5 separate regions of the Homo sapiens genome follow, and regions 2, 3, 4 and 5 are each linked to region 1. The links are contacts of gene promoters, found by promoter capture Hi-C in blood cells and fetal thymus (Javierre and others, 2016). All regions are on one chromosome and are shown on one strand. Each heading gives the region's core, a stretch centred on a gene start or on the middle of the fragment in contact. The rest is flanking DNA. Distances are from core to core; before and after follow the strand shown.

Region 1 (2,518 bases), core at 15-2,514:
TACTTTCCTGTATGTCTCACTAAATTGTGAACTGCAGGCCAGGAATGTCAGTTCCGGCCAGGAGCATGGAAGAAAACATACATATTTCAGTGAAGGTATGATTCTGCTCAAACCCAGTGTTTTTTCAAAATGGTCGTGACCTATTAGTGGGCCAGAAAATCAATTCAGTGGATCACGATCAGCATTTTAAAAGAATGCATTATCAAAAAGGTGTGTGTGGAATCTAAGTGGATAGAACAAGGACTGCTTCACCAGACATCTATTTCTGTTACACGGTATATATGGAGTATCGGGTCACAATGTCAAAAGTATTTCTAACTATGGAGCTCAGGAAAAAAAAGGCTAAAAAACACTCGCTAAAGGGTCCCTCTTCTCCCTCTTTGTCCAATTTATTTCCTGTATCCCCTTTTACCCCACAGCCCTGATCACTCACTCTTTACTGCATTCAATACATAACCGGGAGCTCAGGACCTCCAAAGTGCACAAGTCTGGAGTCCGCACTTTGGGGAGTTTACAGAAAGTGTCCCTCCCTGGCCGGGCGCGGTGGCTCACGACTGTAATCCCAGCAATTTGGGAGGCCGAGGTGGGCTGATCACCTGAGGTCGGGAGTTCGAGATCAGCCTGACCAACATGGAGGAACCCCGTCTCTACTAAAAATATAAAATTAGCCGGGCGTGGTGGCGCATGCCTGTAATCGCAGCTACTCGGAGGCTAAGGCAGGAGAATCGCCTGAACCCGGGATGCGGAGGTTGCGGTGAGCCGAGATTGCGCCATTGCACTCCAGCCTGGGCAACAAGAGTGAAACTCCGTCTCATAAAAAAAAAAAAAAAGTGTCCCTGCCTTCAAGAAGCTCATCAAGAGCTTATTTAAAAAGCATACGAAAGACAGGCACCCTCTTTCCCGTTCTCCCCCATCCTGTTCTTCCCGTCCGGTCCTCTGCCCTCAGTCATTCGCGGGAGCGCAACCAGCGATCCCGCCCCAGTCCGGCTGCCAAGCCTGGGGCCTGTCCCCCTACAGGGCCGATCCGGAGGCGGGGCCCGGCCGCCCGCGGACCCTCCCTCCCGGCCTTCCGCCACCGGCGCGGGCGCAACTCACCGGGCATCAGCTCTTCCGGCTCCCTCATGCCACGGGCAGTACGGGCAGCCTGCGCCGGGGCCAGGAGGCTGTAGAGGACGGTTTGGTCGGGGCTAAAGCAGCTACTCCGCACCGACGCGGGCCGCGAAAGCCCCCAAGTTCCGCATGGCGAAACTCCGGAGATCAACTACAACCGCGCTCCCGGAAGTCAACAAACAGCCGCTACGGGCAACGGGGGCGGAGCTTGGGAATGCAAGGCGGGACAGGCGCCGTTGGGGAGGGGAACGGAGGCCGGGTGGCTGGTAAGGGGCAGGCTCAGGCACAGCGGAGGGGCAGTAGAGACCACGCGCCCTCTGGCGGCCTGGAGCAGAGAGGCGGCCACGCCGCGCAGTGATGCTGTGGAGTCCGCGCCCTTGTGCCGTTGGAGGTCCAGGCGCCGCAGGGACCCTGCCCATGAGTGGCAAACGTCACAAATCCCATACTCCGTGACATAAGCAAGCATCGACACACAATTATGACACTACTAGTAATAGTGACCAGCTGGAACATTAAAGGAGGTAAGCACTCTGCTAAAGATATCCCCAGCATCTAAACCAACATCTGGCCTATACTGAATGCTCATTACGTATTTATTGGACAAATGAGTACTATTACAACCCTGTAAAGTGGTTAATGTTACCTCTGTTTAAGCATGTGGGCAGCTAGTCCAGCTAGTCCAGCCTGTAGTCAACAAAAGTAAAAGCTGAGGTGTATATGGTCCACTACTCACAGAACATACACAAAGGGGTAGCCCAACATCATTGCTCTAGAATTTGCTCAGCGATGTTATATGATGCAGGGTTTCCCATGCATCAACATTTGGCTATCATGAAATAAAGAAGCAAAAAGCCATCTTCCAGAATGAGCAGATTTACGTACGTTTGGTAGTTGTGGACATGGGCCCTAGAATCAGACACAATTGGATTCAGGGATCCCTGAATTACTCTTGTGTGTTACCAACACTTTCTCAGGAAGTTTGCATTAACATGAAGAGGGGACATTAAACTATTAGTTACACAAATAATCATTTACTTACAAAGCAAAGTGGAGGTTACTAAGGAAGTGGTTAACAAGAAGCGTTGACCTGGTGTAGGAGGTTAAGAAAGGCTTATCTGAAGAAAGAACATTAAATCTAAGAACTGGAGAAAGATAAGCCAGGAGGGGGAGAGAGCTCTTGGCAGAGAGTAAATTGTGTATAAAGGTTTGTAAGGAGCTTGACTCTTTCCAGGAACACCAAGAGGCGAGGCTGGTTCCTAGCGAGGTGGCAAGGTCTTGGGCCTATTAAGGATCTGAGATTTTATCCTAAAGACAATGTGAAACCACTGAGAAGTTTTAGGCAGTAGAACAACAGGACAGGATCAGTTATGTGTGTCCCTGAAATCATTCTGCCTGGTCTAGATGCTTT
Region 2 (2,518 bases), core at 13-2,512, 840 kb before region 1:
CACAGCTGACTGGCTCTGGGGTCAGATAGTCGTGATCTCTGCCCCTGTGCTTTGTGTTCCTGGCTTAAGGTTAGGTACCCAAGGACCAGCCTGATTTTATTCCAGGACATCGAGGCAGAAGGAAAGCATCTTTCCTTGATCTTCAAGAGTCCATGAGGGATTTTTCTTTTTTCTTTTCCTTTTGGAGACCGAGTCTTTCACTCCTGTCGCCCAGGCTGGAATGCAGTGGTGGGATCATGGCTCACTGCAGCCTCGACTTCCTGGGTTTAGGCAATTCTCCCACCTCAGTTTCCTGAGTAGCTGGGACTACAGGTGTGTGCCACCATGCCTTTTTTTTAAAAATATTTTTTTGTAGAGGGGTGTTTCGCCATGTTGCCCAGGCTGGACTTGAACTCCTGGGTTCCAGCAATCTGCCTGCCTTGGCCTCCCAAAGTGCTGAGATTACAGTGGTAAGCTGCCATACCTGGCCAATGAGGGATTTTAAATTTCACTCTCCAGAAGGAAAAAAAGGAGAAGGATTGAGATATGTGTGTGTGTGTGTGTGTGTGTGTGTGTGTGTGTGTGTGTGTGTGTGTGTGTATGTGTGTGTATTTGGTGCAGTAAGCAAAAGGAAGAAAGTGTGATAACCCAGAGCTATCTAAACCTCTCCTTTTTCTCATCTGCCTTCCCACTGAGAGGGTGTGTTCTGGTATGCACTCCAGTGCCATAAGCCTACAGGACCCTGTGGGTACAGCCTGTGGTTATCCAGTACCTTCTTTGACTAGCTAATTTGATTAGTTAGAAGAGGCTATCTCCTGTAACAAATGTTTCTAATCTCTTTAGCTTTTAAAGTAAATTTTTATTTTTTGTTTTTATCAAGGTCCAGTGCAAGTTGGTGGTGACAATGATGAGGGGACATTCTCCATAAGTTTTCCAAAGTTCCAGGCTCCTTCTCCAAATTGGATATGTCATATTGTAGGGTCTGTTCCTCTTCTTCACTTGAGACATGGATTGCACAGGGTGTGTCCTATAAACTAGGCCTTATTTGGCCATACATCAGTTATTTTCATATTCCAATAGCCAGAAATCAGTACATGTCCCCATCAAATCACAAGAGTAGCTTGAAAAATATGGTTACTTGTGGACCAAGATGAAAACAAATAAGCTTTGGTGAAGTTATTCTGCCACAGCGAGTTTCTCTAATTGGAAGATTTGAAAAGTACTATCAAGTTCATTTTGCTACAGACCTAAGTTTGTTCTTCAGTGAGCTGAGTCTTGTGTCTACTAATTGGTTTCAAATTCAGCAGGGAAGACACGGGGATTAGTTATTGAGTACCTAAAACTGTGAACATACAGGACTTTTCGAAGTAAATTTTAAAAAAGGAGTCTTTACTCTGGTGTTTAAGCTTTGATCCTGAAAACATATCTGAAATCACATTCCCTATCATGTGGAGTCATCCCTCCTGCAGACAGAATTAAGCTTCAGGGTGCAGCAGACATGGGTGAGCATTTAAAGGGAAGTTGACATCTACCTAGAAGACAGATCCACTAAAGTTTTCCAGTGCCAGAGAAATGCCATGCTTTGGGCATTTAGAATAGTTCCTACTCTGCCTGGGAGCTCTATACCTTTATCTCCAAAGGAGATGAGCACTCCCTAATTGACACCCTCCACCCTCCTGTTCATGGGAGAATCCTACTGGTCATCCAGACTCACAACTGTGCATTAGGTCCATGCTCATCACCGAGGCTAACCCAGTCCTTGATTCCAATCATGAATGGACAAACGTTTTCCAGATATTTAAGGAAAGTGAGGAAGATGCACAAATAGAACTAATTCTGGAGGAGGGAAAAAAGGATATAATACAGGAAACAGAAGAAAACGTTATCAGAACATACTCTCAGAGTTTAAGAAAGACAAGAAGTTTATGAAATGAGAACAAGCTGTCATAGAGGGGAACAATCAGGGGACAGGCGAAAGTCCTTGGACACTAGAAAAGTTACTACAGAATTGACGTAGCACAGAGGTCTGATAGTGCCCAATTCCCCGGGCTGCCCATAGAACTCAGCGTGCTCCCCCACCCCCACCTGTCAGAAGTCCCTCGCAGCTCCGCACCAGCCCACACCCGCCCGACCTTGTGCGCTCCTCCCCGCATAAAGGTCTCCACCGCTCACTTCCGGTCCCTTCGCAGAGCCTGTGACCACACTACCACCGGGCCCGGGGGACGACGCCCTCCACCAGCCGCCGCTGTCGTCCACCATGGTGGTGCTCCGAGGACCCCGCCGCTGCCGCCACTGCCCACGCCGATGCCACTACCCGCTCCGGGCCCCTGGCAAACCCACTGCTTTTCCCCTCCTCCCAGCGCCCGCGCTGCCCGCCCTGGGCCCGCTGTCGCCGGTGCGACGGTACCACCATCCCAGCTGTGAGGCTGCCATCAACACCCACATCAGCCTGGAGCTCCACGCATCCTATGTGTACCTGTCCATGGCCTTCTACTTCGACCAGGACGACGCGGCCCTGGAGCACTTTGACCGCTACTTC
Region 3 (2,518 bases), core at 9-2,508, 810 kb after region 1:
CCTACGAGAAAGCCTGTTCCATCTGGAAGCAAATAGGGAGTAGCTTATACCTCTACTAAGAGAGACTCTTCCTAATGAGACTATAACTACCCAATGGCTTCTCCTTGCCCACTGCCTAGACAGAGCTGATTTGTCAAGACAGGAGGATTGCAATAGAAAAGAGTTTAATTCACGCAGAGCTGGCTATAAACGAGACCAGAGTTTCATTATTACTCAAATCAGTCTCCCAGAAGACTCAAGGATCAGAGTTTTTAAGGATAATTTGGTGGGTAGCAGGCCAGTAAATCAGGAGTGCTGATTGATTGGCTCGGGGATGAAATCATAGGGAGTCAAAGCTGTCCTCTTATGCTGAGTCATTTCCTGGGTGGGGGCCACAGGACTGGTTGGCAGGTCCAGGTGCGGCCATCTGGTTGTCAGAAATGCAGAAACCTGAAAAGACATCTCAAAAGGCCAACCTTAGATTCTACAATAGTGATGTTATCTTCAAGAGTAATTGGAGAAGTTGCAAATCTTATGACCTCTAGAATAATGGCTGGTAATTATTTATTAATAGAATCCAAGCCCCTTTCATCCTTACTTGGTGGCCTTCCATTAGTTTTACAAGAGCAGTTTCCTTTTTGGGAAGGGCTATGATCTAAACTATAAATTTCTCCCAAAGTTAGCTTGGCCCACACCCAGGAATGAGCAAAGACAGCCAACCTGTGAGGCAAGAGACAAGATGGAGTCAACCATGTCAGATTTATCTCACTGTTATAATTTCCTCAGTAATAATTTTTCCAAAGGTGGTTTCATGGCTAGCAACCTCAAATATATGAGAAACATGACTCAGAGTCTTGATGGGACTGAAAAAGTCCTACTTTATGCCCCAACCTAAAGTTAGAGTTCACCAAGGCAGGGAGGAGGGAAAGGTAGTGAGGGATAAAATCAGTCCCAAGAAAGATCTGTGGAAAATCAGAATCCCTTGGCTGCTTCCAAATATCTCCAGATGAGTACTCTTTGCCTGACAAAGGAAATAATTATCCTCATTGTAGTAAACCATTTGCTCAAATTGAACAGGAGCTTTGAATTTGGAAGCAAGGGACAAATTACTTGGGCTTCACAACTAGCCTGTTGTTTTTTATTGCCCAAATGCAGGGGCCAAAATAGAACTGTTAAACTAAGAATAAAGGGTTACCTGCTACACACTGAGACCAATTATGAATAAAAGGAAGTTATAAGGCCAGGGTCTAGGTTCAAGCATTATAACTCAACAAGACCTCCATGTTTGATTAGAGCCACTCCTAGGTGCAGGATCCCTGTGTAAGTATTTTTTTGAAGGGGCAAGGGTTATCTATATGAACAATTTAATTTTTAAAATGTGCTACCAAACTGGTGGGCTTATGTGAGGTATACTGATTTATCGATGAAAATTCAGAATGATGGGATTAGAAGAGGTACTTACATATTTGTTTACTATTCAATCAGTGCTTGTGAAGATTCTTCATAGTATCCTGGCACCGTCTTTTCCTGTTCAGGTCCAGGAACTATCTCTTTGTGTTCTTTATTGCCAAATGTGTCATTCCTGTATAATTTCTTATCACTCACTGCAAGAAAAAGGTAGCAATGCTGTTATTACTCACAATGCCATGGCTCTTTGGAACCTGTTTATATTGTAACTCTATAGATCTTCTTGCCTCTTCAGTTCCCTCATACCACATATTCCATTTATTCAGAGCTGGATACTTTATCCATGTTGCCACGTCATCCGTAGTGCCACCCATGAACACTGGCTTCCAATGACTCTCTCAAAGGTCATCAACTGTGCTTTGTTGATGATGATAACAAATGTAAGTCTTAGTGAGTATGCAAGAAAATGCAAATAAGTTGCTTTGTGGTCTTGCCAAAATTACTGTTTAAGCTGGGTGCAGTGGCTCATGCCTGTAATCCCAGCACTTTGGGAGGCCAAGGCAGGCAGATCACTTGAGGTCAGAAGTTCGAGACCAGCCTGGTCAACATGGTGAAACCCCATCTTTACTAAAAATGTAAAATATTAGCTGGGCATGGTGGTATGCACCTGGGATCCTAGCTACTTGGGAGGCTGAGGCATGAGAATCACTTGAACCTGGGAGGTGGAGGTTGCGGTGAGCCGAGATTGCACCACTGCACTCCAGCCTAGGCGACAGAGCAAGACTCTGGCACACACACAAACAGACACACACACACACACACACACAATATTGTTTAGAATGTTATAGTTTATAGAACAACTCATATTCCACTCATGTCTCTCCTTGATCTCTTTAGGCTGTCATCATTGTATTTCTAGAATGTAATCTCTTTCAATGATGACCTCCACTCTTGCCTTGCACACATCACCACCAATAGGGAGGCAGATAGGTGAGGAACCCATGGACAGATAGAGTAGAGCAGTATCATTTGGGTAAGGAATGTCCATCTTTGTCCTGCATAGCTTGAGACCAGTCCAAAAGAGCACGATGTTACATTGATTGGAGGCAAGAAAGGACATCAATTAGGAGGG
Region 4 (2,518 bases), core at 12-2,511, 820 kb before region 1:
GGTTGAGGTGTTTGAACACCCAGAGAGTTGCTGGTCCCACCTTGACCTTTATCTGCCCCAAGTTTATTACCTTATTCCCAATGTCTGCCCCAAGCTTACCTCAAAATCATCCTGTTCCTGAGAAGCTCAGTGTGGCCTCTGGATTCTCCTTTCAAGATATAGAGAAAAGTTCACCTTTTACATTTTCTTCATGGCTCTGGATAGAAAGATATTATTTCCTAGTATAAAGAATATTTCATATGGAAATGATACACTTGTTTCTCTATGTTTTCTTTTTTCTTGTTCCCCTTTAAAAACTCTTCTCCTCTCTCAGTCCACTCTCTATTTGACCGAAGGAAACCTCCATCCATGTAAACTCTAACGTTGCCCATGTCTGAGGAAAAATACTTCAAACATCTATCTTCTGTGCCACAAAAGAAAGTTACAAAGAAATAAGAAACAAAAAAGTCTTCTTTCTTCTGTGGGTTACAAAGGTAAAAGTCAAAAATTTACAGACTCTATGCTTTAGTCAAAGACACATGGGTAGCTTGCATCATTTCAAAGCTAGCAAATTGTTTTGAGCATTGTATTAGTCCATTTTTCAGGCTGCTGATAAAGACATACCAAAGATTGGACAGTTTATAAAAGCAAGAGGTTTATTGAACTTACAGTTCCACATGGCTGGGGAACCCTCACAATCATCGTGGAAGGTGAAAGTCATGTCTCACATGGCGGCAGACAAGAGAAGAGAAGGAGAGCCAAGGGGTTTCCCCTTATCAAACTATCAGATCTTGTGAGACTCATTCACCACCAGTAGGACAGTATGGGAGAAACTGCCCCCATGATTCAATTATCTCCCAATGGGTCCCTTCCACAAAACATGGGAATTATGGGAGTACAATTCAAGATGAGATTTGGGTGGGGACACAGTCAAACCATATAAGCATTTATTAAGATACGAACAAGTTTCGCTGTGCAACAATTGTCTTCCACATTTCCGTATGAGTGCACTGTAACACTTTTCTTAAAAATTAGGATTCTGGCACTTTGAGTTCAGTTTACAGAAAATGCTTTCGCCTTTTTACACATCTTTGTCAAACTTGGTCTTCTCACTGCATCTCTTTCGCTGCCTACTGTAAGGACTTCTGAATTCTCTGACTTTGTCTCAGCTATTACCTATTGAAATATATATGTCCCTTGACCGTTCTCCTGTGGATATGAGAAAGAACGAGCAAGCATTAAGTTTTGAGTGTTTCAAACTTTAAGTTGACTGAGGGGACTTCTTAATTTTTTGTTTTGGAGAGAAAATTTGGTGTAGTGTTTTCTTAACCTCAGATTGCCTGGGTTCAAATCCAATCTTAGCCTCTCATTTTGGGTAAACTTGAGTAATTTGTTCAACTTTTCTGTGCCTCAGTTTCTCCATATGTAATATAGGGATAATAAAAGCATTAACCCCATTGGGTTGTTGAGATTAAATGAGTTAATATATGTAAATCACTTAGAGTAATGCCTGGCACAGTGTATGTTTACAATGTGGTACTCATGATTTATCACCATTATCATCCTCTACTCTTTTAACTTTTATTTAGGTTCAAGAGAACAAGTGCAGGTTTTTATATAGGTAAACTGCTGTCATGGGGGGTTGTTGAATAGATTATTTCATCATCCAGGTACTAAACCGTGTACCCAATAGTTATTTTTTTGTTCCTCTCCCTCTTCCCACCCTCCACACTCAGGTAGGCCCCAGTGTCTGTTGTTTCCTTCTTTGAGTCCACGTGTTCTCATCATTTAGCTCCCAATTATAAGTGAGAACATGTGGTATTTGATTTTCTGTCCTTGCATTAGTTTGATAAAAACAATGGGCTGGAAGCCATCATCCTCTACCCTTATGTTTCTTTGTGGTCTTTATGCTTTGGGAAAATACTTCACTTCTACACGTTGCCACTGGGGGTCTCTCTTGCATGTCTAGTAACCAGTTGCCCTGCATACTGAGAAGGAAAAAACCTTAGAAGATAGTTTGGTTGTCAGGTGTCTCCAGGACTCAGAAGGGTACATGGCTGTTTTCCTTACCCCCCACACCTCAGTCCCAAGACAGGAGGAAGGTTGTCCTGTGACAACTTTCCGTGCTATTCCCCGCCCCCGCCCATTCTATCTCAACCAGCTTTCCCTTGAATTCACTCCTAGAACACTGTTCTTGTTCTTCCCAAACCCAGGTTGCCTGAGTCTCCTGTTTCCATCCTGAACTTCCTCCCACTCTTCAGAGATGGACAAGAGCAACAGGATGAAGTGCTCACCCTGATCCCCACCTTTGTCTGGATGTTTGGAGCTGAAAAGGAGAGGAATGGCTAGGTGGGCACTGGGGGGAGAATGAGAAAAAGAGAACACATTAGGGCCACTGACAACATAAGTAAAATCCACATATCATCATGAGCTTTGGCATAGAGGCTCTCAAGCTTTGCTGCACATCCAAATCACCTGCAGAGCTTTTGAAAATCTCAATGTCCAGGCAGCATCCCAGACCAAATACATAAGCCTCTGG
Region 5 (2,518 bases), core at 6-2,505, 570 kb before region 1:
ATTAATTGCCTGTGAACACTTCTGCACCATCCACTAGGCTATGAGTTCCATGAAGAATGAGAAAACCATGTTTGTCATGGTTACCACTGTTTCCATAATACCTAGAATGGTAGATTGATTGTAGTAATAAAATCAAGTAATGGCTTTTCTCTAGCCACACTTTACGGCTGCAGCTTTGTGATACCATCTCACTCTGAGTCATTGGCCAAGTGACTTGCTTTGGCCAATCAAATGTTAGCAAATGTGATGCAAGAAGAGGTTTGAAAAGCTCACACCTGTAATCCCCGCACTTGGGGAGACTAATGTGGGCAGATCACATGAGGCCAGGAGTTTGGGACCAGCCTGGCCAACATACTGAAACTCTGTTTCTACTAAAAATATAAAAATTAGGCAGGTGTGGTGGCTCACATCTGTAATCCCAGCTACTCAGGAGGCTGAGGCATGAGTATCGCTTGAGCCTGGGAGGCAGAGGTTGTAGTGAGCCAAAATCTTGCCACTATACTCCAGCCTGGGCAACACAGCGAGACTCTGTCTCAAAAAAAAAAAGAAAAAGAAAAAGAAAGAAAAGAAAAGAAAAGCTCATATATATTTCCTCTTGCTCTTTTGTAAGATTTGGCTCACTCACTGTTGCATCTTTAACTCATCATGAGAGTAAGTCTGGGTTAGCTTTCTGGAAGGATAAGAGGAACCAATGAAGAAAAACTGAAGCCATCCTAAACCAGCTAAGAACCAGATGCCTTTCAAACATATGAATGAGTTCAGCCAAGATCAACAGAGCCACCTATCCAACCCAAAGATGAGTGCAGATATATAAGTGACCCTGGTGAAGACCAAGAGAACTACCTAGACAACTCATGGACCCAAGAACAATAATGCATGATTAATATTTTAAGCCACGATGATCTGCAGTAGTTTCTATGCAACATTTTTGTAGCAATGAATGATAAATATATCTAACCCTCAAGATTTGTTCCAGGTGCTCTTTTTTCTCAAGCCTCTTTAAATAAGTTCTCTAACCCAAAACAGTAGATCAATTATTTTCTCTGCTTGTTTTCATGGAGTTCTCTCACCTCACTTATTTTAGGCTACATTTATGTTCATCATTTCCTATAACTTATCAGTTGATGGGCCTTGAAACTGTGACTCTCTAATTTCCTACTTGTCTCTCTTTTCTCTTTTCCAAATTGATAAATATATATTAGAAATACAGTGGCCATTTTTTCTTTTTCTTTTCACACATACTTTTAGCAAGTTTATTTTTCCTCTTAACTGCTAGGCCTTATGTCACTCTTATCCACTCAGTGTTATGCCAAAGCCATTGCATACTTGGTCATGAAAGCTAATTGCTAAACTTTCAGAAATTTTGTAAACTGGATATTAAATATAACCATCTTTGAAATCTGCCATGGTGGAAGTATTTACACCACAGAAATGGGCAAATTCTACAAATCAGGGCTGCCTCTCTAAATCCAGAGATGCAGTTATTAAACATGTACTAGTGTATGTACCATTGTCTATACCATTTATATTTTATTGATGAAACCCACTCACCTTTCAACCTCTCTCAGAGGGGCAGATGTACTGCCTGAGGGATTAGAAAGCTGAGAGGAGATAGGTAAAGGTAGTAGAATCTCTGGAAACAGAATATAAAAATTTGATTTCCTATGCATCTGTGTCTCATGGATGCACAAATTTCTGCAGCATTCTTTCTACAGACTGTCTTAACTGGAAAAGGCATTATGTGTGTGGGTGTGACCAAAACTCTAGCATTTACTTTCCTCACTGGTGCTGTGATAGAAATTACCCAATCCTTAGCTGCCCATCCTATAAAGCTCCTTCTTGTGCTTGAAGAATCCACCACTGTGACAGAAGACGAAAAGCTGAAATATTTATTCTCTTTGATTCTTGGCAGATGGAGCAAAAGCAGAAACATAATGAGATGCTTCCAGGACTTTATATATTGATGAGAAGTAGGAGAGTTTAGAATCCCATTCTACTGCCAGTGCTGGTGGTAGATGCCACTGATCCAGATGTTTTCCTTTGGCATCACCTTGGCTTCCCTTTATTCTTGCCTTGTTTCCCCTTCTGTTTCTCCAACCTTCCTGTCAATCTATCAAGACATTGTGTAGCTTTTTGATAAGTTATGTTTTGACAGAGTTAATCAAAAGTTGGCTTCTGTTGTTTGCAACTAAATGCCCTGCTTAAAACAAGCAACATGCTGAGAAATCCATGAAGGTGCCACCAGTGGATATGGGAGACATGAAGTGGCTGTTGATGCCACCACCTGGATGTGGTGCCTGGTTTATGCAGCTAGACTTCCACTAATGGATTAACTCAGTTGAAAGGAGTGTAGCTGACTTTCACATTCAGTTATGCTTTTTCTATAATATTAAAGCTCTTCATTTAAGTAATTTAAATAAAAGTAAAGTATGCTGCATTGAAGAGGATATATAATTTTGAGAAAGATGTAGTCACTAACACTGAGAGAAATAAGGCATATATTTTTTTCATTAATCTT

Evidence for each region. Contacts are between HindIII fragments. The CHiCAGO score rates a contact against its expected background, and 5 or more counts as called.
Region 2: a fragment that was not itself captured here is called in contact with the fragment with the promoter of RPGR in region 1 in 1 of 17 cell types (naive B cells); the score reaches 7.1 in naive B cells.
Region 3: a fragment that was not itself captured here is called in contact with the fragment with the promoter of RPGR in region 1 in 1 of 17 cell types (neutrophils); the score reaches 5.7 in neutrophils.
Region 4: a contact is called between a fragment that was not itself captured here and the fragment with the promoter of RPGR in region 1, in 1 of 17 cell types (total B cells). The highest score is 8.0, in total B cells.
Region 5: a contact is called between a fragment that was not itself captured here and the fragment with the promoter of RPGR in region 1, in 1 of 17 cell types (neutrophils). The highest score is 10.0, in neutrophils.

What each region holds. Positions count from the first base shown.
Region 1 is chrX:38,326,245-38,328,762 of GRCh38, forward strand. RPGR (retinitis pigmentosa GTPase regulator) reads right to left here and starts at 1,265. Exons shown (of 15, transcript NM_001034853.2): 1 at 1,096-1,265. The coding sequence starts at 1,123. It also overlaps a transcript of OTC not described here. RefSeq lists a silencer at 954-1,203. The HindIII fragment of the contact is 17,506 bases long and covers 1-2,518 here.
Region 2 is chrX:37,489,653-37,492,170 of GRCh38, forward strand. It overlaps the pseudogene FTH1P19. Among named protein-coding and RNA genes, the nearest start is that of LANCL3, 81 kb to the right of the region's middle. The HindIII fragment of the contact is 241 bases long and covers 1,143-1,383 here.
Region 3 is chrX:39,137,999-39,140,516 of GRCh38, forward strand. No RefSeq gene overlaps it. Among named protein-coding and RNA genes, the nearest start is that of LINC01281, 190 kb to the right of the region's middle. The HindIII fragment of the contact is 4,995 bases long and covers 1-2,518 here.
Region 4 is chrX:37,507,561-37,510,078 of GRCh38, forward strand. No RefSeq gene overlaps it. Among named protein-coding and RNA genes, the nearest start is that of LANCL3, 63 kb to the right of the region's middle. The HindIII fragment of the contact is 2,338 bases long and covers 93-2,430 here.
Region 5 is chrX:37,760,016-37,762,533 of GRCh38, forward strand. No RefSeq gene overlaps it. Among named protein-coding and RNA genes, the nearest start is that of CYBB, 19 kb to the right of the region's middle. The HindIII fragment of the contact is 4,220 bases long and covers 1-2,518 here.